Regions from separate parts of the Homo sapiens genome. Here all the other regions are linked to region 4. The links are contacts of gene promoters, found by promoter capture Hi-C in blood cells and fetal thymus (Javierre and others, 2016). All regions are on one chromosome and are shown on one strand. The core of a region is centred on a gene start or on the middle of the fragment in contact, and the rest is flanking DNA. Distances in the headings are between cores, read along the strand shown. Region 1 overlaps ZSCAN1 (zinc finger and SCAN domain containing 1). Region 2 overlaps ZNF135 (zinc finger protein 135). Region 3 overlaps ZNF71 (zinc finger protein 71). Region 4 holds the start of ZNF234 (zinc finger protein 234). Region 5 has its middle 4.5 kb from the start of ZNF548. Region 6 overlaps ZNF805 (zinc finger protein 805). Region 7 has its middle 9.3 kb from the start of ZNF132.

Region 1 (3,471 bases), core at 1-2,500, about 14 Mb after region 4:
GAAGCTGGAGGAAGGCGGCCCTGTGTACAGCGCCCCCGCAGAGATGGTGGTGAAGTCCCGGGGGCAGAGAGGGTGCTGGGCGAGCTGAGGCACTACTACCATGGCTTCCGCCTGCTACGGATCCACACCAAGATCGCAGCACGCATGCTCTGGCGCATCCTCAACTGCCACACCCTGACCCGCCAGGCGCGCAGGCAGTTGCTCCGGTTCTGTGCCGACCTCTTCCGCCTGGTGCCGTTCCTCCTGTTCGTGGTGGTGCCGTTCGTGGAGTTTCTGCTGCCTGTTGCTGTGAAACTCTTCCCCAACATGTTGCCATCCACATCCGAGACTCAGTCCATCAAGGAGAAGAGGCTGAAGGAGCTTCAGGTCAAGCTGGAGCTAGCCGAGTTCCTCCAGGACACCATCCAGGAGATGGCCTTGAAGAACGAGGCAGCCAAGGGCAGTGCCACCAAAGACTTCTCTGTGTTTTTCCAGAAGATCCGGGAGACGGGGGAGAGGCCCAGCAATGAGGAAATCATGGGTTTTTCCAAATTATTTGAGGATGAGCTGACCCTTGACAACCTGACACGGCCGCAGCTGGTGGCCCTGTGCAAGCTGCTGGAGCTACAGCTTCCTGCGCTTCCAGCTCACGATGCGGCTGCGCTCCATAAAGGCAGAGGACAAGCTGTTTGCTGAGGAAGGGGTGGACAGCCTGAACGTCAAGGAGCTGCAGGCGGCATGTCGGGCACGAGGCATGCGGGCCCTGGGCGTCAGGGAAAACCACCTGAGGGGCCAGCTGAAGCAGTGGCTGGACCTGCACCTGCATCAGGAGATCCCCACATCGCTGCTCATCCTGTCCCGGACCATGTAGCTCCCGGACACCCTCTTGCCAGCCGACCAGCTCAAGTCCACACTGCAGACTCTCCCAGAGATTGTGGCAAAGGAAGCACAGGTGAAAGTGGCCGAGGTGGAGGGCAAGCAGGTGGACAAGGCCAAGCTAGAGGCCACACTGCAGGAGAAGGCGACCATGCAGTAGGAGCACCGCGAGAAGGAGCTGCAGAAGCATTCGGAGGTGGCGAAGGATGTTGAACCCGAATGTGTGGAAGGCGCTCCCCAAAGGCCAGGGGCCCAGCCCCAGCCAGAAGTGCCTGACACTGTCCTGCAGTCAGAGACCATGAAGGACACTGCCCCCGTGCTAGAGGGCTTGAAGGAGGAAGAGATGACTAAGGAGGAGATCAGCATCCTCAGCAATGCCTGCTCTAAGCTGCAGGAACAGAAGAAGTCACTCACCAGGAAGAAGGAGGAGCTGGAGCTGCTGAAGGAGGACATGCAGGACTACAGCGAGGACTTGCAGGAGCTCAAGAAGGAACTTTCAAAGACTGGTGAAGAAAAATACATGGAAGGATCTAAAGCCAGCAAGAGATTGACAAAAAGGGTGCAGCAGATAATCGGGCAGATCAACGGCTTGATCTCGCAGCTGGAGATGGACCAGTGGGCCAGCAAGCTGGCCCCGGCCAAGGGCGTGCCCATGGGGGAGAACGTCATCAGTGTTGCCGAGCTCATCAACGCCATGAAGCAAGTCAAGCACATTCCCAAAAGCAAGCTCACCAGCCTGGCCGCAGCACTGAATGAAAATAAGGATGGCAAGGTCAACGTCGACCACCTCATCAAGGTGATTGAGCTGGTGGACAAAGAAGATGTTCACGTCTCCACCAGTCAGGTGGCCGAGATTGTAGCAACACTGGAAAAAGAGGAGAAAGGGTGGAGAAGGAGAAGGTGGAGAAGGAGGTTGCAGAGGTGAAGAGCTAGAGCCACTGGCGTGGGCACCTGTCCTCCTGCTGCACTGCCACCCTGGTGAGGGCTGTGAGAGCGATTTGCGGTGATTCTTAGTGGCTCATCTAATACTTTGGCTGGAATAAATCAGAGACTTCCATAATCAAGTAAACTGTAATTTTCATCATTCCACGGAGCTTCAATCTGTCTGGAGTCCCAGAATCCCTCCACAGAATCCTGTCTGGATCCACACTGTGGTGTGGCTGCCACGGCCTCCTGGCTCCAGAGGCGGCTGGGCCAAGGCAGGAAGGTGCCCCCCTGTGTGTGGCCTCACGTCTCAGTGTCTGACTGTGCTGCCCTGTGCCCAGGGAGGAGAATGAGGACCACATGGACTCTGCCCACACGGAGCTGGCTGCTACGCCCACCCTCAGAGGCGTCAGGAGACACAGCCTGGCCCCCTCAGGGCTGAAGATGCCTCCATTCACCTGTGGACCTTGCTTTCTAGATTTCAGCATCAATAGACCTGTCTTCCTGCATGCTTTTAGTTGGATCTGGGTCACTGTGGAGACAGAGGTATCTGCCATCTCTGTGGCCTCTGGAGAGTGACGTCTCCCTGCTGGCAGGGCCGGTTCTCACCTGCAGTTTTCCTTGTGTATCGGAGCTCTTTCTTAACTTTCTATTTTCCCCCAATTCTTTAAGCAGTCGATTGGCACAGAGTTTTCCCACGCTGGTCGGCCTGCCCCAAGAGCCATCTCTGACCCAAGCCACGCAACTCTGACGTAGCCCTAGCCATGGGACTCCCTTGGGTGGTGCTTGGGCTGCGCGCCACGGGGGCTGCAGTGGATTTACTGTGTCAGGGATGAGCCTGGCTCGGGTTGGTGGGGCTCTGAAGCACATTTGGGGTTCTTTGTAGCTTCTAATGTGAGGTTTGAGTCCAGTGCACCCACAGCAGCATACCCTTCTCACCCCTTGTGGTGTTGCAGGCTCAGGCCCCTGGGGTCCTTTAACAAGCAGGCTGGTCACCGAGGCACGAAGACGAGGCACAGGGCATCCCCTGGGGCTTCAAGGGCAACACCCGCAGTGCTTAGGGTTTACCCTGTGCCCTCTGGGTGGGGTGGCCTCCCTGCACTCGGCAGCATGGTCGGGCTGGCGAGGGCGTGGGCAGGCAGTGTCCTGTGGCCACCTCCACCCTCCTGCCCAGCCGGCTGTGTCACACTCATATTTTTAAGGTCAGGTTGGTTCCTGGTAAAAATGTCCCTCCGGGGGCCTCCAAGCATAGGATTTGGAAGACATAGGAATGGCACAGGCAGCCAGGAAAGCAGCTGCGCTCAGACGATGCCTTCTCCATTACTTGAAGCTTCTTTTTGTTCAGCCATTAAAGAAACTTGACAAAATAGGAACAGGAGATATTTCTCAATTGTAAACCTTTGTGCAGGGACAGTTGGCTTCCAAAGCCTTTCAGATTTCAATTATTTGAGAAAGAAGTTTGTTTTAGATCCTTAATATTTATGAATTCTCAAAAAAAATCAATGTATAGACATTTTATAGCTTTAACCCTGCAAGTGTTTCAAGCTGTGTTTCTTAATTAGTATACTAACTGCCCTGGGGCATGTAGGTAAGTGTAAATGATGTGGTTTGAGCCAAGTTTTCATCTGTAATCCCACTGCTTGAGGTGGCCAAGGCCGGAGGATAAGCCAAGCCCAGGAGTTGGAGACCAGG
Region 2 (3,128 bases), core at 557-3,056, about 14 Mb after region 4:
CATGATGTGCCACTGCACTCCAGCCTGAATGACAGTGGAACCCTGTCTCTAAAAAATTAAAAAACAAACCCAGATTTGGCCGGGCGCGGTGGCTCGCACCTGTAATCCCAGCACTTTGGGAGGCCGAGGTGGGCGGATCACGAGGTCAGGAGATCGAGACCATCCTGGCGAACACGGTGAAACCCCGTCTCTACTAAAAATACAAAAAAAAATTAGCCGGGGGGGTGGCGGGCGCCTGTAGTCCCAGCTACTCGAGAGGCTGAGGCAGGAGAATGGCGTGAACCCAGGAGGCGGAGCTTGCAGTGAGCCAAGATCATGCCACTGCACTCTAGCCTGGGCGACAAAGCGAGACTCCGTCTCGGGGGAAAAAAAAAACCACCCAGATTCAGTCTTTAGACTTCTGCTACTAGCTTTATAACTTTGTTTATCCCCTAGGCTGAAGTGCAGTGATGCAATCATGGCTCACTGTGCTTCAAACTTACGTGCTCAAGTGATCCTCCCACCTCAGCCTGTTAAGCAGCTGGGACCACGGGCATGCGACACCATGCTGGGCTGGTCCACTCCTTTATTGCTGGCTCCCTCCATTTCTTATTTCAAGAGACAAATTATTGGAAACGGGCATGATGCCTTAGATTCTAAGATCCTCCACCTCATCAGCAGGGCACCCATCCAGGCCCCACAGAAAAACCTGACCCAAAACCCCAGACCAAAGGGAACTCCATCCGACCCAGCCTGGCTGGCATTTACCAGCTACCCCACCAGCAGCCAGTGCCAGGGTTGGCTTGGCTGAGGACACTCGTGTGATGTTTCAGGAGCAAGTGACGTTTGAGGACGTGGTAGTGGGCTTCAGCCAGGAGGAGTGGGGGCAGCTGAAGCCTGCCCAGAGGACCCTGTACCGTGATGTAATGCTGGACACCTTCAGGCTTCTGGTCTCTGTGGGTAAGGCCACACCCATGTCCTATCTGTTGATCTGTCCCTGACACGGATTCTGATTCTACCAGGTTAAATATTTATAGGACTGAGCTTTAAAAGCAAATGCCTGGGGCTGTATGTCTTGGGCTTTAAGAACCTGACTGTTTTAATGTAGGAAATATCAATTAAGACCAATATTAGCAAGTCTCAGACTCAACCTGAAATCAACAGAAGCAGAGAAACATGAGGTGAGGGAAACATACTGGGTCTGAAGACTACAGAATCCCAGGGTAGACCAGGGTGTTCTGTAGAGCTGTTAGGAGCCCCTCCTTCTTCAACACCTCCCTCTGCACTTCTGTCTTAGTCTGTTAGGGCTGCTAAAATACCTTAGACTGGGTAATTTTAAACAATAGATATTTGTTGCTCATGGTTCTGGAGGCTGGGAAGCCTAAGATCAAGGTGTCAGCAAATTCAGTGTTTGGTGAGGGCTTGCTCCTCACTGATGGCACTTTCTTCCTGTGTCCTGACATGCCATAAGGGCAAGGGAGTTATCTCAAGCTTCTTTTATAAGGGCACTGATCCCATTCATGAGTGGAGCCCTCATGAATTAATCACTTCCCCAAGGCCCCACCTCAACACTATCAGATTAGGTATTACATTCTAACATTTGAACCTTATTTATTTATTTATTTATTTATTTGTTTTTAAATTTTTTATTTTTGAGACAGAGTCTCGCTGTGTCACCCGGGCTGGAGTGCAGTGGTGCGATCTCGGCTCACTGCAAGCTCTGCCTCCCGGGTTCACACCATTCTCCTGCCTCATCTTCCTGAGTAGCTGGGACTACAGGTGCCCACCACCACGCCTGGCTAATTTTTTTTTTTTTTTGTATATTTAGTAGAGACGGGGTTTCACCGTGTTAGCCAGGATGGTCTCGATCTCCTGACCTCGTGATGCACCCACCTTAGCCTCCCAAAGTGCTGGGATTACAGGCGTGAGCCACTGCGTCCGGCCTGAACCTTTTTTATTTTTAAGAAACAGGGTCTTGTTCTCTTGCCCAGGGTGGAGTGCTGTGGCACAGTCATACTTACTGCACACTTAACCTCCTGGCTCAAGTAAACCTTCCATTTCAGTCTTCCAAGTAGCTGGGACTACAGGTGCATACCACCACACCTAGCTAATTTTTAAAATTTTTGTAGAGACGGGTCCTTGCTGTGTTGCCCAGGCTGCCCTCAAGCTTCTAGGCTAAAGTGATCCTCCCACCTCAGCCTCCCAAAGTGCTGGAATTACAGGCATAAGCCACTATGCATAGCCTGAATTTTAGGGGGACACCAACATTCAGACCATAGCAATCTCTTTCTGGCTTCATTTCCAGAGAGGCTCCTCTGGAGGTGACAAGACAACTGCCTGGGGTGCCTTTCCTGCAACCAAGACCAGCAGAAAAGACAGGATCTGTGTCCCAGGGTTGTCCTGGTTTGGCTGCCAGGTCTTCTTCACAGTGATCATTGATGCCAGTGGGCAGGGGAGGAACCAGAGTTCTGATTGTCCAGGCTTGGGTCACATGTCCACCCCAGAACCAGTGGTAGGGTCAGGGACTGAGAGTAGGGGAATGAGTCCCTGAGGAACATCCAGGGCTGTGGGTATGACAGCTGAAGTCACTCAGGGGTCCCCAGCCATCTGGGACCTGGAAGACCAAAGGTGGAATGGGCTGAGGCTCAGGAAGGGTCCTGGGATACAAATGCTCACTCTATGGGTCTCTCCCTGAGCAGGACATTGGTTACCGAAGCCGAATGTCATCTCCCTGCTGGAGCAAGAGGCAGAGCTGTGGGCGGTGGAGTCTAGACTTCCCCAAGGCGTGTACCCAGGTGAGATGGGAGCCCTTCGGGGCAGAGAGAAGCCTGTCCATGCTTGCTTCCTGGTTTCTCCCTCTGCATCTGCTCTCTAATTCTTCAGAGCAAATTTACTACTCAGTCTTAGTGAAGATTTACCAAGCACCCATTTTGCTGTGAGTGACGACACCACGTCCTCATCTCCACTGAATTTATATTCTTGGTGAGGGAGTGGGGGAAACAAACAATAAATCGGTAAAATAATAATAATAAAACAAGTTGGATGATTACAGATTGTGATGAATGCCGAGAAAATGAAAATGAGCAATGAGGTAGACTAGGAGGGGGATGAGTAGACTTTAGCAGAGAGATGAGGGATAGCCTCTCCAA
Region 3 (3,090 bases), core at 479-2,978, about 12 Mb after region 4:
AGTTTTTTTTTTTTTTAATTACTACTAGTGTAATTACATTCAATTTTTAAAAAAAATTGAGCCTGTCTGGTTTCAGCGTTTTCCCTGTGGTGAAATGGTTTGTGTCATTAGACAGGAAACCGAAAAAGATGGAGTACTAGAAAAAGGGGCCTTGGACACGTACGTGCAGAGAACTCAGAGGCCCTTTGTTAGCACTTCTGTCCCAACACGATGGGCTCCCAGACCTGGAAGGCTGTGTTCTGTGTCTCAGCACAACCCTGGTGCCAGTCTGGGCTTGGTGCCTGGAGACTGCTCAGTGAATAGTTGAGTGAATTAGGTGGGTGTACTTAGGGAAGACTTCCAGAAGGAATTGTTGTATTACAATTTTGTAAAATAAATAAATATAGGTGTGAGAGGGAACTTTTGGAGGTAATGGATCCGTTTATGGCCTTGATGGTGGTGATGGTTCCACGGGTGTATATGCATCTGCAAACTCATCAAGTTATGTATATTATTAAATATGCACAGCTTTTTATATATCAGTCACACCTCAATCAAGTAGTTTAAATTTTTAGAAAAGGAGGAATTATTAGCTGGGCTGGCTGAAAGATACATTGGGCCAAAAGGTCAAATAATATCATATAAGGATCTACAGTTGTACATAAGATATATATTAAATATCAACATTAAATAATAGCAAGAGTCGACATTTACTGAGAGCTTCCTCCATCACACGAGGCACTGTGTTTGGACCATATTTGTACACATTTAACCTTACGACCCTGTGGAGGGGGACATTGTTATCAGGAAGCCTGCCTCTCATATGAGGCTTAGAAAGAGAAAGACAGTTGTCCAAGGAAACACAGCTCATGAGGGGCAGAGCCAGGATTCCGTTGCAGAGTGTGGTTCCTGAGCCTACACTCTGAACCACCAGCCCAACTGCTTTCTATCAAAGGTGACCCCTCAGGCAGAGGAGGCTATCTTGAGCCCAAGCCCCAGAAGGGCACCCTAGGACCATAGAGGGACTAGCCAGCGGGGGTGAGGCCTCCCCTTGGGATTCAGTTGGTGGTGGGGACACTCAGTATGCTGGAGAGAGCCAGTGAGCTCTGAGTGTCAGTAACAATAGCTGGCACTTATTGAGTGCCTGCTGTATGCTATGCATTACCATTCTGAGTGTCTTACATAAATAAGTGGGCAGGTGGGGCCTGTAGCAAATTGGAGCTTTCTTGCCCCATCAAAGGGTCAGCCACCACTCAGCTCCAGCCTAGAGTGGCCAGATATTCTGCTGTTTAAAGAGAAACTAGAAATTCATTTTCTTGGTAAATTGTGGATGTGTTTTTCATGTGAGTAACAATTAAAAACAATTTTGAAACCCCCATAGGAGCAAAATAGAAATGTGTACAGCTGGCTTCAGGCCCAGGTACATCTCATATGCTCTGTGTGCTCAGAACTCCCGTTCTTTCCTTGTGCCTTGGGGGTTGTACCACTGAATCAGTTCAGAACAGCAGGTCCCTCTGTAGGACACAATAGGTCTCTCATTACTCACATGCCATGCTGTGAGGAAGCCCAAGCAGCCACAAGGAAAAGTGATGTGGAGAAAAAGAGATGCCCACCAAGGCCTCAGCTGTGCCATCCATACCAGCTCAAGAGACAGACTTGTAAACAAAGAAGCTAGCAGACTACTCTAGCCCAGCTGCCATCCAACTGCCACCACACAAGAGATGCCAGGCACGAACTGCCCAGCTGAGCCCATCAACCCCAAAATAGTAATAAATTGTTGTTTTTGAGCCATTAAGTTCTGAGATGGCTGCTACCCAGCAAAATATAACTGGATCAGAAATTTAATCTGTGGCCATGGCTCAAGATCTTCATGTGGCAGAGTCATGCATGGATGATGTGATCAGCCAGCAATAATGTGAGACGTGCAGGCCTTCATCACACTAGGGAGGAGGTCGACTGTCAAGCACCATCTCTGGAAGTGGCTTCAGGATCGCTTGTGATCTGTCTGGAAGAGAAGCGCCAGCTGGGACACTCTGTGATATTTATCCAACTGTCTTCTTTATAGGCAAAAGACGTGCCATCCATCTCAGGGTCTGATCCAAACTAAACTGCTCCTTGGCTGTGATGCCAGCTAGATTGGTATTATACATGGATGAGGCCATCTAATGTTGGGGCTGAGAGTTGAACTGACTAGGTTTAAAATGCTGCCACTCCCATCTGTGTGACCTCTTGTGCCTCAGTCTCCCCCTTTGTAAAAGAAATGAGCTCATAAAAGTGCCTACATAGTAGGGTTCTTTTGAAGATTAAGTGAGATGGTGTGTGCAGTGGGCTTAGAACAATACCTGGCATGTAGTATGTGCTTAATGAACATTAGTTATTTTTATCATTATTTACTAATGAATTAGTATGGAAGAAACCTGGTGCCAATACCATGTCTGTCTTATTCACAGTTGTATGCCCAGTGCCTGGTGCATGGCAGGCACTTAATAAATATTCGTCAAATGAATACATGAAAGGGTGAAGTATCACTCTGTGTGTTTCCAGGAACCATCAATGAACATATTTAGAATATGTTAGAATATGTATTAGATACCATTGATCTAGAATTCCTGTTTAGGGGGTAAAAATTCAACCATACTTTTCTGGTAGCCCGGAAAATTATAAATTAATCAGTTAAATTTCCGATCCAGTTATATTTTGCTGGGTAGTAACCATCTCAGAACTTAATGGCTCAAAAACTACAATTTATTACTATTTTGGGGTTGATGGGCTCAGCTGGGCAGTTCGTGCCTGGCATCTCTTGTGTGGTGGCTGTTGGATGGCAGCTGGGCTAGAGTAGTCTGCTGGCTTCTTTGCTCACATGTCTGTCTCTTGCTGTGGTATGGATGGCACCGCTGAGGCCTTGGTGGGCATCTTTTTTTTTTCCACATGGATTTTCCTTGTGGCTGCTTGGGCTTCCTCACAGCATGGCATGTGAGTAATGAGACATAATGAGACACCTGTTGTGATGACTGGCTTCTCCCAGAGCAAGTGTTCCAGGAGGCTGAGGCAGGAGCTGGAAGTCTTCTGTGATCTAGCCTGAGAGTCCCAGAACATTACCTCTGCCAGATT
Region 4 (3,282 bases), core at 261-2,760:
AGTGAGATGCTACACAATTTTAAACAAGCAGATCTCATGAGAACTCTATCAGGAGAACAGCACTAGAGGGATGGTGCTAAACCATTAGAAACCTCCCCGGTGATCCAATCGCCTCCCACCAGGCCCCAACTCCAACACTGGGGATTACATTTCAACATGAGATTTGGGTGGGGACACAGATCTAAACCATATCAATAGGCCAATGTATGTTTATGGGGAGAAAAAAATCTGGTTATCTTTTTTTTTTTTTTTTTTTCCGTGACAGAGTCTTGCTCTGTCGCCCAGGCTGGAGTGCAGTGGCATGATCTCGGCTCACTGCAACCTCTGCCTCTCAGGTTCAAGCGATTCTCCTACCTCAGTCTCCCGAGTAGCTGGAATTACAGGCACGCACCACCATGCCCGGCTAATTTTTGTATTCTTAGTAGATATGGGTTTTCACCATGTTCTCCTGGCTGGTCTCGAACTCTTGACCTCATGGTCCGCCCGCCTTGGCCTTCCCAAAGTGCTGGGATTACAGGCGTGAGCCACCGCACCCAGCCCCTGGTTATCTTGAAGAAAGATTTTAGATGGGTTTTTTTCTGATTTTGCTTTATTCTATTATTTATTTGTATCAACCAATGTAAGCCAGATTCCAAATTGCTAACTATAATGACGATATTTTAACCAAAAAATATAAAGGAAGAAAATAAAATATGTTCCTTCACGTATAGGATCCTCCTTAATGCTACTGCATTAAATAAATCATAGGCATTGGGTGTCTGACATCAATGCCAAGCGCTTCACCAGTTATACTTGCTTTGAAGTATTGGGCAATTTAAGAGCTTCTCTGAAATTTGGTGTTTTTACCTCTTCAGTAGACATAATACCATGAAAAGTGTAAACGAAAGAAGATAGCTTTTCCATGAGGACAGGGCTTCCCCACTGGCCCTCTCAAATGATGATTGTTTTTCCTGCCAAACCAGTGGTACCACAGCGTCTGGAGTAGGGGCTGGCACCTTCTTTGTTCTTCATTGCCTCTCCCAAACCATTGTACTTGCTCACTCTTCCAACTTTTAGTTTTGGCCTCATATTATCAGTTTATAGTAATCAATCATCAATCATCTACTGACCCCTAAAAAGTCATTCCCCATTTAGTCCTTGAAGATTGTATCTCCTCGCTTGTTCTCTTTCCAATAATCCTCCGTAGTCCTGGGAGGCGTTTAGACTTCAGGAATTGCTGTCTATTCAATATTTTCGCTCAAGGACTCAGGCAGAGGGAAGGACGACTCTCAGGGTCACAGTCCACATTCCCTACCAAGCGCTCAGCGATATAGGATTCGTTCCCCATGGGCAGTGCGGGAATCGTAGGCAAGGAGCACCGCGGAGTCCCATCGCTTTTCCCTGAAGGGTGAGATTCTGAACGTTTTTCCCTCAGCATTCTGAGTGTAATCCAAACGCTCAGTGGAGTCGTGGTCCATTTGACCCACGCAGGGGGATCCGGGGAATTCTGGGAAATGTAGTCCCGCCAATCAGTGGAGTCGCGGGCACTTCCGCTCCAGGGAAGAGGGGGCGATTGTCACGGCACATTCCACGGTAGTTTCTTCCAGTTCCGCGACTCGCGGGCCCCTCCTAATGTCAGGGACTTAAGATTGGGGCTCGCTGGGACCTGGTGGTCCGGTTATGGGAAAAGAAGCCTCGTGGGAGAGCAGAGGTTTGGTGGGGCGAGGGCGGCGGCTTTTGTTGTGTCAGCGGAGCCTTCTTGGGCTGGGGCTCCCCTCGTGTCCCGCGGCGGGAGGCGGGGGGCATTGGGACTTGGTTGGGTCGCGTCTCGCCTGGTTTGAGGGTTTCCGGGGCTCTGAGCTCGCCCACTCCGCCTCCCTGCACTCCAGGCGCGCAGTCACTTTTTTACAGTGCAAGGTTGGCGTGTTAATCTCCCTGGGCCTCTCCTTGCTGTTCTTTAAAATGGGGACGTTAGGACCATCTTTGTAGAATCGTTTTGGTAACTGGAATAGGTTACACAACACAAACAGTCCCTGTCACTTGGTGAGTGGTGGTTTCTTGTTACTTTCCCACGAAACCTGTTAGGTCCCCCGGTGGGGTCAGAGCTCCAGCAGCAGGGGCCTCAGCCCTTATCTCTGATCCCTGCAGGACGCTGGACGATCCCGGACGCCTTCTGACCTCTTTTTAGGCAGGCGAGGGTTGCGTCCACTTCCACGAAGGGAGGGGAGCATTTAACTTTTCTCAGGGACAGCGACCCAGTCAGGATGTTTCACAGCTTTCTCCTTCCCCAGCCTGAAAAAGGACTGCGCGGACTGACTTCTTGGCTACTGAAAGCAAAGCTCCACGTGAGTGTGACTTGTCATTTTTCTTTTACAGAGACTGTATCTTTGTAGCATGTGTAATAGGGCATGGGCATTTATAATAATTAAGCCTTAATTGCTAACTTCAATTCTAGGGGATTTATACAATTAGATACGTTTAAGCCGCAACGTGACTCTGTGGAGAGGTACTGGTCATCCAAGTAGTAAGAGGTGAAACTTGGGTTGGAACCTAGGCATTCAGGGTCAGAGCCCGAGTTGATCATCTCTTGGATATATTCTCATTGAGGCAGAGGAACTAGCTGTACTCAGGTGGGGAAAGTAAGTTAGAACTTGATTAAAGGACCTTAAGAGCAAGGCTAATTGCCTTGGAGTTTTCTCAGTTTTTAAAAACTGTCAACTATTTTGTTTCATTTATTACAAATATTTCACATTCTAATAGAACCGTATCACTGTGAAGCATTCAGAAATTACAGAAATACGAAGATACAAAAATTGTAATTACCTATGAAATCAGGATGTAAAGATAGTAATGGTTAAATTTCTAATGCATTTTGTTTTAGTGGTTCCATGTTTATATTACTTATAAATGTTTTACAAAATTTTTATTATACATTTCTCAATGTTTTTCTATTTATCTGCTTATCCATGGAAATTTCCAGATAAAGAGATAATAAACTAGTGACCTGCCATATTCTATCATGCTCATTCTTATTCTTCTCATTATTATTTCTCCTATGACTATTTCCTGATTTTTTAAAAAAACTTTAACACAGTAATTATATAATTTTAAGTCTATAGAAAAGTTGCAAAAATAGTATAAGAGGGCAGGGCATGGTGGGTCATGCCTGAGTCCTGAGTTATGGAACTGAGGCACTCAGGGTCACAGCCCGAGTAATCCCAGCACTTTGGGAGGCCAAGGCCTGTGGATCACTTGAGGCCAGGAGTTTGAGACCCGCCTGGCCAGCATGACAAAAACTCGTCT
Region 5 (2,961 bases), core at 261-2,760, about 13 Mb after region 4:
TACAATTAAGAAGAAGTGGCCAGACACAGTGGCTCAAGCCTGTAATCCCAGCACTTTGGGAGGCCGAGGCAGGCAGATCATAAGGTCAGGAGTTCGAGACCAGCCTGGCCAACATGGTGAAACCCTATCTCTACTAAAGATACAAAAAATTAGCTGTGCGTGGTGGTGCGTGCCTGTAATCACAGCTACTCGGGAGGCTGAGGCAGGAGAATTGCTTTAACCCGGGAAGAGGGGGTTGCAGTGGGCTGAGATCATGCCATTGCACTCCAGCCTGGGCGACAGGGCAAAAAAAAAAATTAGCCGGGCATGGTGGCGGGCGCCTATAATCTCAGCTATTCAGGAGGCTGAGGCAGAAGAATCGCTTGAAGCCGGGAGGCAGAGGTTGCAGTGAGCTGAGATCGCGCCAATGCACTCCAGCCTGGGTGACAGAGCAAGATTCTGTCTCAAAAAAAAAAAAAGAAAAAAAGAAAAAAGAAGAAGGGTAGCAGAAATTCTGTGAATGAGTTACTAGGTTCAAAAATGAGGATGCTCAATATAATGCATAGGTTCAGAAAAAAATTACGATGAAAAGAATTGTCAAATTTTGTAACTGATACTTGACCTGGTTAAATTTGAATTATTTCTAATTCCCTATGTATATGTGCAGTGAGATAAAAGATAAATATTGTATGTGACATACTCATCATAAAATTATTTGTTGTTTATCTGAAATACATTCTAAATCAGGGGTCCCCAACCCCTGGGGCCACAGATGAGTACTATGGCCTGTTAGGAATGGGGCCATATAGCAGAGGGTGAGTGGCAGATGAGTGAGCATTGCTGCCTGATCTCCGCCTCCTGTCAGATCGGCAGCAGCATTAGATTCTCATAGGGGTGCAAACCCTACTGTGAACTGCACAAGAGAGGGATCTAGGTTGTATGCTCCTTATGAGAATCTAATGCCTCTGAAACCATCTGCCCCCAAACCCCTCTCCCTTATCCATGGAAAAATTGTCTTCCACAAAACCGGTCCCTGGTACTAAAAAGCTTGGGGATCACAGTTCTAATGACATAACTCTTTCCCTGATAATTTGCTTCTACTTAACAATTCCTTGTTTTATATAATTTGCTTACAGAATTCCTGCAGTTACAGTCTTGATGCCATTTATGTTGTGACAAACCTTCGTCATTTGTCATATTCAACTTATTTCATTCCTTTATCTATTGGACATTCATTAATGAGAAACACACTCAACAGTAGCATTCTGAGCCTAAAGACTCATGATGATAAACAGTGTAGAAAACATTACAAACTCTATTATAATTATTCTACCATCTCCATCTGATTTTAACAAAAAAGTTATTTTGTCTCTTTCTTTGGAACTAGTTGAGAAAATCATGCACCTTCCAAAGTTAATATATATTTGACTGTCCACCATTTTCATTAGTCAATGGGCAATTACATAGAGTCGAAGACCTTCAAAGGGAATTTTAAATACTCCTCAGTTCATCATAAATTATAAACTTGCATTTTGACATTTTTTGCATTCAATATACTCAAAATATAGACAATAGCAACTTCTACAAGAGTTGAAAAACATTGTGGGTACAGTGGCTCATGCCTGTAATCGCAGCACTTTGGGAGGCCTAGGCGGACAGATCACTTGAGGTCAGGAGTTCGAGACCAGTATGGCCAACATGGCGAAACCCCATCTCTAATAGAAATACAAAAAATTAGCCAGGCATGGTGCCACGCGCCTGTAATCCCAGCTACTTGGGAGGCTGAGGCATGAGAATCACTTGAACCTGGGAGCCAGAGGTTGCAGTGAGCCGAGATTGCGCCACTGCACTCCAGCTGGGTGACAGAGTGAAACTGTATCTTAAAAAAAAAAAAGAAAAGAAAGAAAAAAGAAAACACTGGAGAAAACGTTGGATTTTACAATGTATGTCTGGGTCAGTTAGTCTACCATTTCATATCCAAACTCATAACTAATTACAAACAGATGGAACCATTGAAAGCTTGCAAACTTTTAAATTATATTCATATAATTAAAATATAAGTAATAATTTATATTCAATTAAGAATAAATGGGGCCAGGCGTGGTGGCTCATGCCTGTAATCCCAGCACTTTGGGAGGCCGAGGCAGGCGGATCATGAGGTCAAGAGATCGAGACCATCCTGGCCAACATGGTGAAATCCCGTCTCTACTAAAAATACAAAAAAATTAACTGGGCGTGGTGGCGTGCATATGTAGTTCCAGCTACTTGAGAGTCTGAGGCAGGAGAATCACTTGAACCGGAGAGGCGGAGGTTGCAGTGAGCCGAGATCACACCACTGCACTCCAGCCCAGCGACAGAGTGAGACTCCGTCTCAAAAAAAAAAAAAAGAATAAATAGATTTTGATATCTCAAGGGAAAAAAAGTGATATTCCTATTTGTCTGCAGGGCAGAGCTGTAGTGGTCAGGCAGTCTCCTCAAACAAAGCCAAAACTGCTATTATATGAGCTTTTAGGAAGGCTGGCCTTCAGGGACTGAGGACTTTCAGAAGCAGCAGAGTTGAAAGACTGATGGACTTTCAGGTATGTTAGTGTAAATGCAACCATTTACCAACTGGCTTTCATAAACAGGATTACTGACAGGAGGCACTTGTGGATTAGTTGTTGCCAGCAGCCTGGGGCTGCCACTGATTGACCATCTTTAGTACTGGGCCTTACCCCCATTGGAAAAATTTTAGAATCTTGGCCTAACAATGATTTGCTAAGTTTCTGGTTAATTACTGGGGTGAAGCTTTTGCTGACTAGCTGACTTTTAAAGCATAGGTACACATCCCAAGTTATCTCTAATTAATGGTGGTTTCTTGTTTATGATTATGGATTTGGGGCAGAGATAAATTTTTTCCTTACTTGAACATAAGCCAGCAACTTAATTCTCATTCCCCATTTTTGGTTTCCCAACAGCCAGAATTTGTAAGAAATCATATGC
Region 6 (2,993 bases), core at 69-2,568, about 13 Mb after region 4:
TTTTAATTTTGTCCTTCCACTCTTTTTAAAGTATCTTTTGTTCAATGAGTTCCTTACATAGCGTAGTCTGATTTATGTTTTTTTTTTACGTGATTAATGATTTTGTACCTTGTGGAAAAAATGTTGCTTTACCCTAATGTCAAAAAGGTATTCTTGTTTATTTTATTGTAAGTTGTAAAACTTGCCATTTGGCATTCAAGTCTTTATCAATCTGAAGTTGATTTTGAGTATAGAATGTGATAGAATACAATATTTCCATTCCCCGTGTTGGTAGCCAATTTTTCTAGCTCTAATTCCTTAGTAGTCTCTCATCACTGAGGTGCTGTGCCTCTTTGCCATCTACCAAAGCCCCATCTATGTGCAAGGGGATTTCTGAGCTCTCTGTTCTTCTTTATTCCCAGTTTGCATTATGTCTGTGCCAGAGTGGTACCTCTGCCTTATGAGCTCTGTCCTGAGAGTGGCACTGCTCTTCACAGCTGTCACCTAGGTCAGAATCTTGGGAATCAGTCCCCCTGTGCCTCATCTTTCCCTAGATTCTCATCACCACCACCCTCTCATGCACTGTAGCTCATTTGCATATTCTTTCTCCTAAGGCTATAGTGTCTTTCTCACATTCTCTCGTGACAAGTGGGACTTACTTCACTGGGTACCTTCTATTGGAAAACTGCCTTGATCTTTTTCTACCCAGGATTAGCCAAACTCAAGATAAGGACACAGTCCTCCAGGACTTTGTCAAGTCTACCCAAATCCTCTTAATTCCAACTGCAAATTCAGGGATTTCCTGAAACCAACCTTAGGTTTCATAACTTGCTAAAAAGACTCACAACACTTTCTAAAACCTATTATACTCACAGTTTTGTTTATTACAGACAAAGCATACAAATTAGAAGAGGACACGGGATGTGGGGCTGAAGGGGTTCCAAACACAAAGCTTCCTCAGTAACTTGTTACCCACCCAGCATTGAGTGTAAAATATGTGCACAGAGCATTGCAAACCCAGGAAACTCACTGGAGCTCTGGTTTTTAGAGTTTGTTGAGCTTCATTACACAAGCACGGTTAATCGAGACATTGCCCACATTGCCATGTGAAGTTTCCAGCCTTCGTCCCTTTTCCAGAGTTCAGCTGATATCTTGTGGCTCAGAGACCTAACCTTCTACTCACTGGTTGGTCTTTCTGGTGCCACCAGACCTCAGCCAGAGTCATCTATTTAGGATAAACTATTTAGGTACCTATAATGAGTTACCTTTATATAAATATTTAGTCTGGAATTGAAGCGATATCTCCACTCTAGGCCCTGTCCCCTCACCTGGTCTCTCTGCCTGGTCTCCCTTTCAAGGAGTCAGGAATCCAAGGAAAATAAAAGAAACAAATTATAGATCTGGGGTTCAAGATGGCAAAATATAACAGACATAAAGGCACCATTTATAACTTCATTTTTTTTACTGAAGTGGTGAGTTTGTTTCTTCTCTTTTTACATTACTAACAAGCCCTTCTGTGTGTTGGATTTCTTTCAGGTGACAAAGGAAAACCCAAGAGCACAGAACCTACCACCTGTGAGCTAGCCTTGTCTGAAGGAATCTCTTTTTGGGGACAACTAACACAAGGAGCTTCAGGGGACTCCCAGTTGGGGCAACCCAAGGATCAGGATGGGTTTTCAGAAATGCAGGGAGAACGCTTGAGACCAGGGTTAGATTCCCAAAAGGAGAAGCTTCCTGGAAAAATGAGCCCCAAACATGATGGTTTAGGGACAGCTGATAGTGTGTGTTCAAGGATTATACAGGATCGAGTCTCCTTAGGAGATGATGTCCATGACTGTGACTCACATGGATCAGGTAAAAATCCAGTTATTCAGGAAGAGGAAAATATCTTTAAATGCAATGAATGTGAAAAAGTGTTTAACAAGAAACGCCTGCTTGCTCGGCATGAGAGGATTCACTCTGGAGTGAAGCCCTATGAATGCACAGAGTGTGGAAAAACCTTTAGCAAGAGTACATACCTCCTGCAGCACCACATGGTCCACACTGGGGAGAAGCCCTATAAGTGCATGGAGTGTGGGAAGGCTTTTAATCGGAAGTCACACCTTACCCAGCACCAGCGGATTCACAGTGGAGAGAAGCCTTATAAGTGCAGTGAATGTGGAAAGGCCTTCACCCACCGCTCCACTTTTGTCTTGCATAACAGGAGCCACACTGGAGAAAAACCCTTTGTGTGCAAAGAGTGTGGCAAAGCCTTTCGAGATAGGCCAGGTTTCATTCGACACTACATCATCCACAGTGGTGAGAATCCCTACGAGTGCTTCGAATGTGGCAAGGTCTTCAAACACAGATCATACCTCATGTGGCACCAGCAGACTCATACCGGGGAGAAGCCCTATGAGTGCAGTGAATGTGGGAAGGCCTTCTGTGAGAGCGCAGCGCTGATTCACCACTATGTCATCCACACTGGAGAGAAGCCCTTTGAGTGCCTCGAGTGTGGGAAGGCTTTCAACCACCGATCCTACCTCAAAAGGCACCAGCGGATTCACACTGGGGAGAAGCCATATGTGTGTAGTGAATGCGGAAAGGCCTTCACCCACTGCTCTACTTTCATCTTGCATAAAAGGGCCCACACTGGAGAAAAACCTTTCGAGTGCAAAGAGTGTGGGAAAGCCTTTAGCAATAGGGCAGACCTCATTCGCCACTTCAGCATCCACACTGGAGAGAAGCCCTATGAGTGCATGGAGTGTGGAAAGGCCTTCAACCGCAGGTCAGGCCTCACAAGGCACCAGCGGATTCATAGTGGAGAGAAGCCCTATGAATGCATCGAGTGTGGGAAAACATTTTGCTGGAGCACAAACCTCATTCGACACTCTATCATCCACACTGGAGAGAAGCCGTATGAGTGCAGTGAATGTGGAAAGGCCTTCAGTCGCAGCTCGTCCCTCACTCAGCATCAAAGGATGCATACTGGGAGAAATCCTATCAGTGTAACAGATGTGGGAAGACCTTTTACA
Region 7 (3,240 bases), core at 373-2,872, about 14 Mb after region 4:
TCTCAGAGAGAGACAGGCAGATCCAGGAGTGAGTGATTGAGACTAAACAGATCATTCCTAAGTGTCACATGTAGATGCAAACAATGTCCATGAAGAGAAACCTTTTCTTCTATTTTAGATGGAGTCTCACACTGTCGCCCAGGCTGGAGTGCAGTGGCACGATCTCGGCTCACTGCACACCCTGCCTCCCAGGTTCACACCATTCTCCTGCCTCAGCCTCCTAAGTAGCTGGGACTACAGGCACCCGCCACCACACCTGGCTAATTTTTTGTATTTTTAGTAGAGGTGGGTTTTCACCATGTTAGCCAGGATGGTCTCGATCTCCTGACCTCATGATCTGCCTGCCTCAGCTTCCCAAAGTGCTGGGATTATAGGCATGAGCCACTGTGCCCGGCCAAGAAACCTTTTCTGGAAAGCTCCAGAAGACACCAGCTCAGATCTTAGCAAGAATTGTCATACCAAAATCTAAAGCCATCAGTGGGAAAGAAAATGAAGGTACTCAAAGCCTATGTAATTCTCTCTAGAGAATGGAAAAGGGAGTATAGTCTGCTTTCCCTTAGCACAGTGAGGGAGACTGATACATATCATGAGATCTTGCCAGGTGGCAGAGATGAGACAGTATGGCAGGCAGCTTTGGACATGGCTTCCAATGATCTCTGCCCTCTGGTATTCATGCTCTTGTGTAATGCTCTCCCCTTGACTGTGGGCTGGACCAAGTGACTTGCTTCTAACTAAATTTAGCAAAGATGATGGGATCTCACTTCTGTTATTAGGTTACAAATGACTGACTTGTTGGTATTCTCCACTGCATGATCAGCTTGCAAGCTTTGATTGACAAGCTGCCATTTTGGAGAGGCCCATGTGGCAGAGAACTGGAGGAGGTCTCAGACCAACAGACGGGTCCTCAGTCCAGCAGCCCACAAAAAACTGAATGCTGCCAATTACATGAGTTTGCTTGGAAGCAGAGCCTTCCCTAGTCAAGCCTTCAGATGATACACCCCCAGCTGACATCTTGATGTTAGCCTTGTGAGAAACCCTAAAGAGGAGTCAGCTAGCTGCACCAAAGTTCCTGACCTATAGAGACTGTGAAATAGTGACTATTGTTTTAAGCCACTAGGTTTTGAGTAATTTGTTACACAGCAATAGGTAACTAATACAGATGGCTTCTGCAATAGCAGTAATACAGTGCCGCCTAAGATTCTGGGAGCTGTGGCTTTCCCACATTTGTTGCCCATAACTCTCTTGTGAATTCTCTGGTGATTTTTCTTAAAAGGGGGTGTCTATAGCTGAAGGCTTTCCCATTTTCACTGCATTTGTAATGCCTTTTTCCCATAGGTACTTTATATAGCTTTCTCACATAGGAGAGGTGACTGAAGACCATCCCACATTCCTTAGATGCAGGGGTTTTCTCTACTGTGAATTTTTTGGTTATAGATAAGAATCGATTTCTTCTTGAGGGTCTTTCTTCATACCAAGTATTTAAAGATCTCTCTTCAGTGTGGGTTCTTAGGTGGTTGAAGAGGGCAAAAGTCTTCATGTCTTCCCATAGCCACTGCTCTTGAAGGGCTTCTCCCTATCATGGCCTGCCCGGTGTTATCTGATGTTAGAGCTGTGTGGCAGCATCTTCTCACTCAGCTCTTCTTCATGGCTTCCCTGTGCCATGAGTACTCTGGTGATGGAGAAAGGAAGGCCTTTCCACATTCTCTTTTGAGCTTCTCATTATTCTGGTACTCCAGTGCTGGAAGGGGGTAGTTACCCTGGAAAGCCTTCACAAATGCCTGGCCCTTGAGTCCTCTCACTTATGAATTTTGCTGTGCATGAACTGAAAAGTGCTCTTACTGTGAGCCATGTCACATCTGAAAAGGTGGTCTTCACCATAAATGGTCTACTGTTGGTGAAGGTTTGATCCACTCCCTTGTGTGGGGTTTCTACCTGGAGTACACTGCCTAACGTTCAGCCAGGAGTACAATCTTTGGCAGGGCAAGGGTGCCATGGTCAGGGTGAGGAACGACCAGTCATGGAGTACTGGTCCTGTCACATATCCCACTACTGAGCCTGTTAGGTGACATTCACATAGGCAGGGAGAACAGAGAGGGATCTAGGACAGATGTGGAAGCAGCAGTGGCTACTGAAACTGCTGTTCAGTGATGTGAGCCCAGGCCACCCTTCTTTTCTAGAGATGGGGCCTTGCTATGTTGCCCTGGATGGACTCAACCTCCTGGGCTCAAGAGATCCTCCTGCCTCAGCCTCTCAAGCAGCTAGGACTATAGGTGTGCACCACTGCACCTGGCCAGGCCTCTCCTTTATGGGGACTCCTGTTCACATCCCAGCCAATGCTCTCATGAGTACTTCCTTGTATGGGGGAGGTCAAAGAAACAGCAGCAGCTCACATGTGATGATGCTGAAATTACATGGTAAATAAGCTTTTTAAAATAGGTGCCGGCCAGGTGCGGTGGCTCATGCATGTAATCCCAGCACTTTGGGAGTCCAAGGCAGGCAGATCAGGAGGTCAGGAGATCGAGACCATCCTGGCTAACATGGTGAAAACCCGTCTCTACTAAAAATACAAAAAAATTAGCTGGGTGTGGTGGCGGGCAACTGTAGTTCCAGCTACTCGGGAGGCTGAGGCAGGAGAATGGCGTGAGCCATTTAGGAGGTGGAGCTTGCCGTGAGCCAAAATCGCGCCACTGCACTCCAGCTTGGGCGACAGAGCAAGACTCCATATCAAAAAAAAAAGGTGCCAAACACCATATTCTACAAGGTTCTGGATCTCTAGCTCCTTCTAAAATACCAGCTCTGTCAACTGTGTTAAATGCCCCCATCTGCCTGTGCCCACTCTGTTGGCCAGCAAGACTGTGAAGGCATGAAGTGTGTGTTAGTGACCAGAAACCCTGGCCAGACTGCAAAAACCACTTTCCTGGACGTCAGGCTATCACTTCTCTCAGCTCCCAGTTCCTACCTGGGGAGTGATGGGTGCCAAGATACAGTTTGAGAGAGGTGAAGTGAATGTACATGACATTGCATTTATCTGCTTTAACTGTGGCAAAAACTTTAACATGGCAAATACAAAGGTCTGTAGCTCTGGAGTTGTTCTGCACACCCTCACCCTGCACAGTCCCAGTTGATGGGGAACTATGGCTATTCCTTTGTCCATGATGGCATGTGCCCTAGTTCACCAGTCTACCCAAATCCCTGGTTATTACCTCACATCCAGTGTTTCTCTATGCACATAGAGTCCTC

Evidence for each region. The method cuts DNA at HindIII sites, captures the fragments that hold promoters and counts their contacts. A CHiCAGO score of 5 or more calls a contact.
Region 1: a fragment that was not itself captured here is called in contact with the fragment with the promoter of ZNF234 in region 4 in 1 of 17 cell types (total CD4 T cells); the score reaches 8.0 in total CD4 T cells.
Region 2: a fragment that was not itself captured here is called in contact with the fragment with the promoter of ZNF234 in region 4 in 1 of 17 cell types (activated CD4 T cells); the score reaches 7.5 in activated CD4 T cells.
Region 3: a contact is called between a fragment that was not itself captured here and the fragment with the promoter of ZNF234 in region 4, in 2 of 17 cell types (non-activated CD4 T cells and naive CD8 T cells). The highest score is 11.1, in non-activated CD4 T cells.
Region 5: a contact is called between a fragment that was not itself captured here and the fragment with the promoter of ZNF234 in region 4, in 1 of 17 cell types (non-activated CD4 T cells). The highest score is 10.3, in non-activated CD4 T cells.
Region 6: a contact is called between a fragment that was not itself captured here and the fragment with the promoter of ZNF234 in region 4, in 4 of 17 cell types (non-activated CD4 T cells, total CD8 T cells, naive CD8 T cells and 1 more). The highest score is 10.2, in non-activated CD4 T cells.
Region 7: a contact is called between a fragment that was not itself captured here and the fragment with the promoter of ZNF234 in region 4, in 1 of 17 cell types (total CD8 T cells). The highest score is 6.4, in total CD8 T cells.

Annotation. Positions count from the first base shown.
Region 1 is chr19:58,044,982-58,048,452 of GRCh38, forward strand. The region is part of intron 4 of ZSCAN1 (zinc finger and SCAN domain containing 1); the gene reads left to right. It also overlaps the pseudogene LETM1P2. Among named protein-coding and RNA genes, the nearest start is that of ZNF135, 13 kb to the right of the region's middle. The HindIII fragment of the contact is 3,714 bases long and covers 1-3,107 here.
Region 2 is chr19:58,060,768-58,063,895 of GRCh38, forward strand. ZNF135 (zinc finger protein 135) reads left to right here. Exons shown (of 5, transcript NM_001289401.2): 3 at 813-939; 4 at 2,679-2,774. Among named protein-coding and RNA genes, the nearest start is that of ZNF135, 3.0 kb to the left of the region's middle. The HindIII fragment of the contact is 676 bases long and covers 1,469-2,144 here.
Region 3 is chr19:56,603,782-56,606,871 of GRCh38, forward strand. All of the region lies in intron 2 of ZNF71 (zinc finger protein 71), which reads left to right. All of the region lies in intron 2 of ZNF71-SMIM17 (ZNF71-SMIM17 readthrough (NMD candidate)), which reads left to right. Among named protein-coding and RNA genes, the nearest start is that of ZNF71-SMIM17, 10 kb to the left of the region's middle. The HindIII fragment of the contact is 7,069 bases long and covers 1-3,090 here.
Region 4 is chr19:44,140,044-44,143,325 of GRCh38, forward strand. ZNF234 (zinc finger protein 234) reads left to right here and starts at 1,511. Exons shown (of 6, transcript NM_006630.3): 1 at 1,511-1,690; 2 at 2,271-2,324. RefSeq lists enhancers at 1,539-1,938, 1,693-2,283, 1,949-1,998. The HindIII fragment of the contact is 9,485 bases long and covers 1-3,282 here.
Region 5 is chr19:57,383,919-57,386,879 of GRCh38, forward strand. No RefSeq gene overlaps it. Among named protein-coding and RNA genes, the nearest start is that of ZNF548, 4.5 kb to the right of the region's middle. The HindIII fragment of the contact is 972 bases long and covers 1,025-1,996 here.
Region 6 is chr19:57,251,558-57,254,550 of GRCh38, forward strand. It overlaps ZNF805 (zinc finger protein 805), which reads left to right. Exons shown (of 4, transcript NM_001023563.4): 4 at 1,516-2,993. Among named protein-coding and RNA genes, the nearest start is that of ZNF805, 12 kb to the left of the region's middle. The HindIII fragment of the contact is 778 bases long and covers 930-1,707 here.
Region 7 is chr19:58,429,269-58,432,508 of GRCh38, forward strand. It overlaps a transcript of ZNF324B not described here. Among named protein-coding and RNA genes, the nearest start is that of ZNF132, 9.3 kb to the right of the region's middle. The HindIII fragment of the contact is 1,598 bases long and covers 824-2,421 here.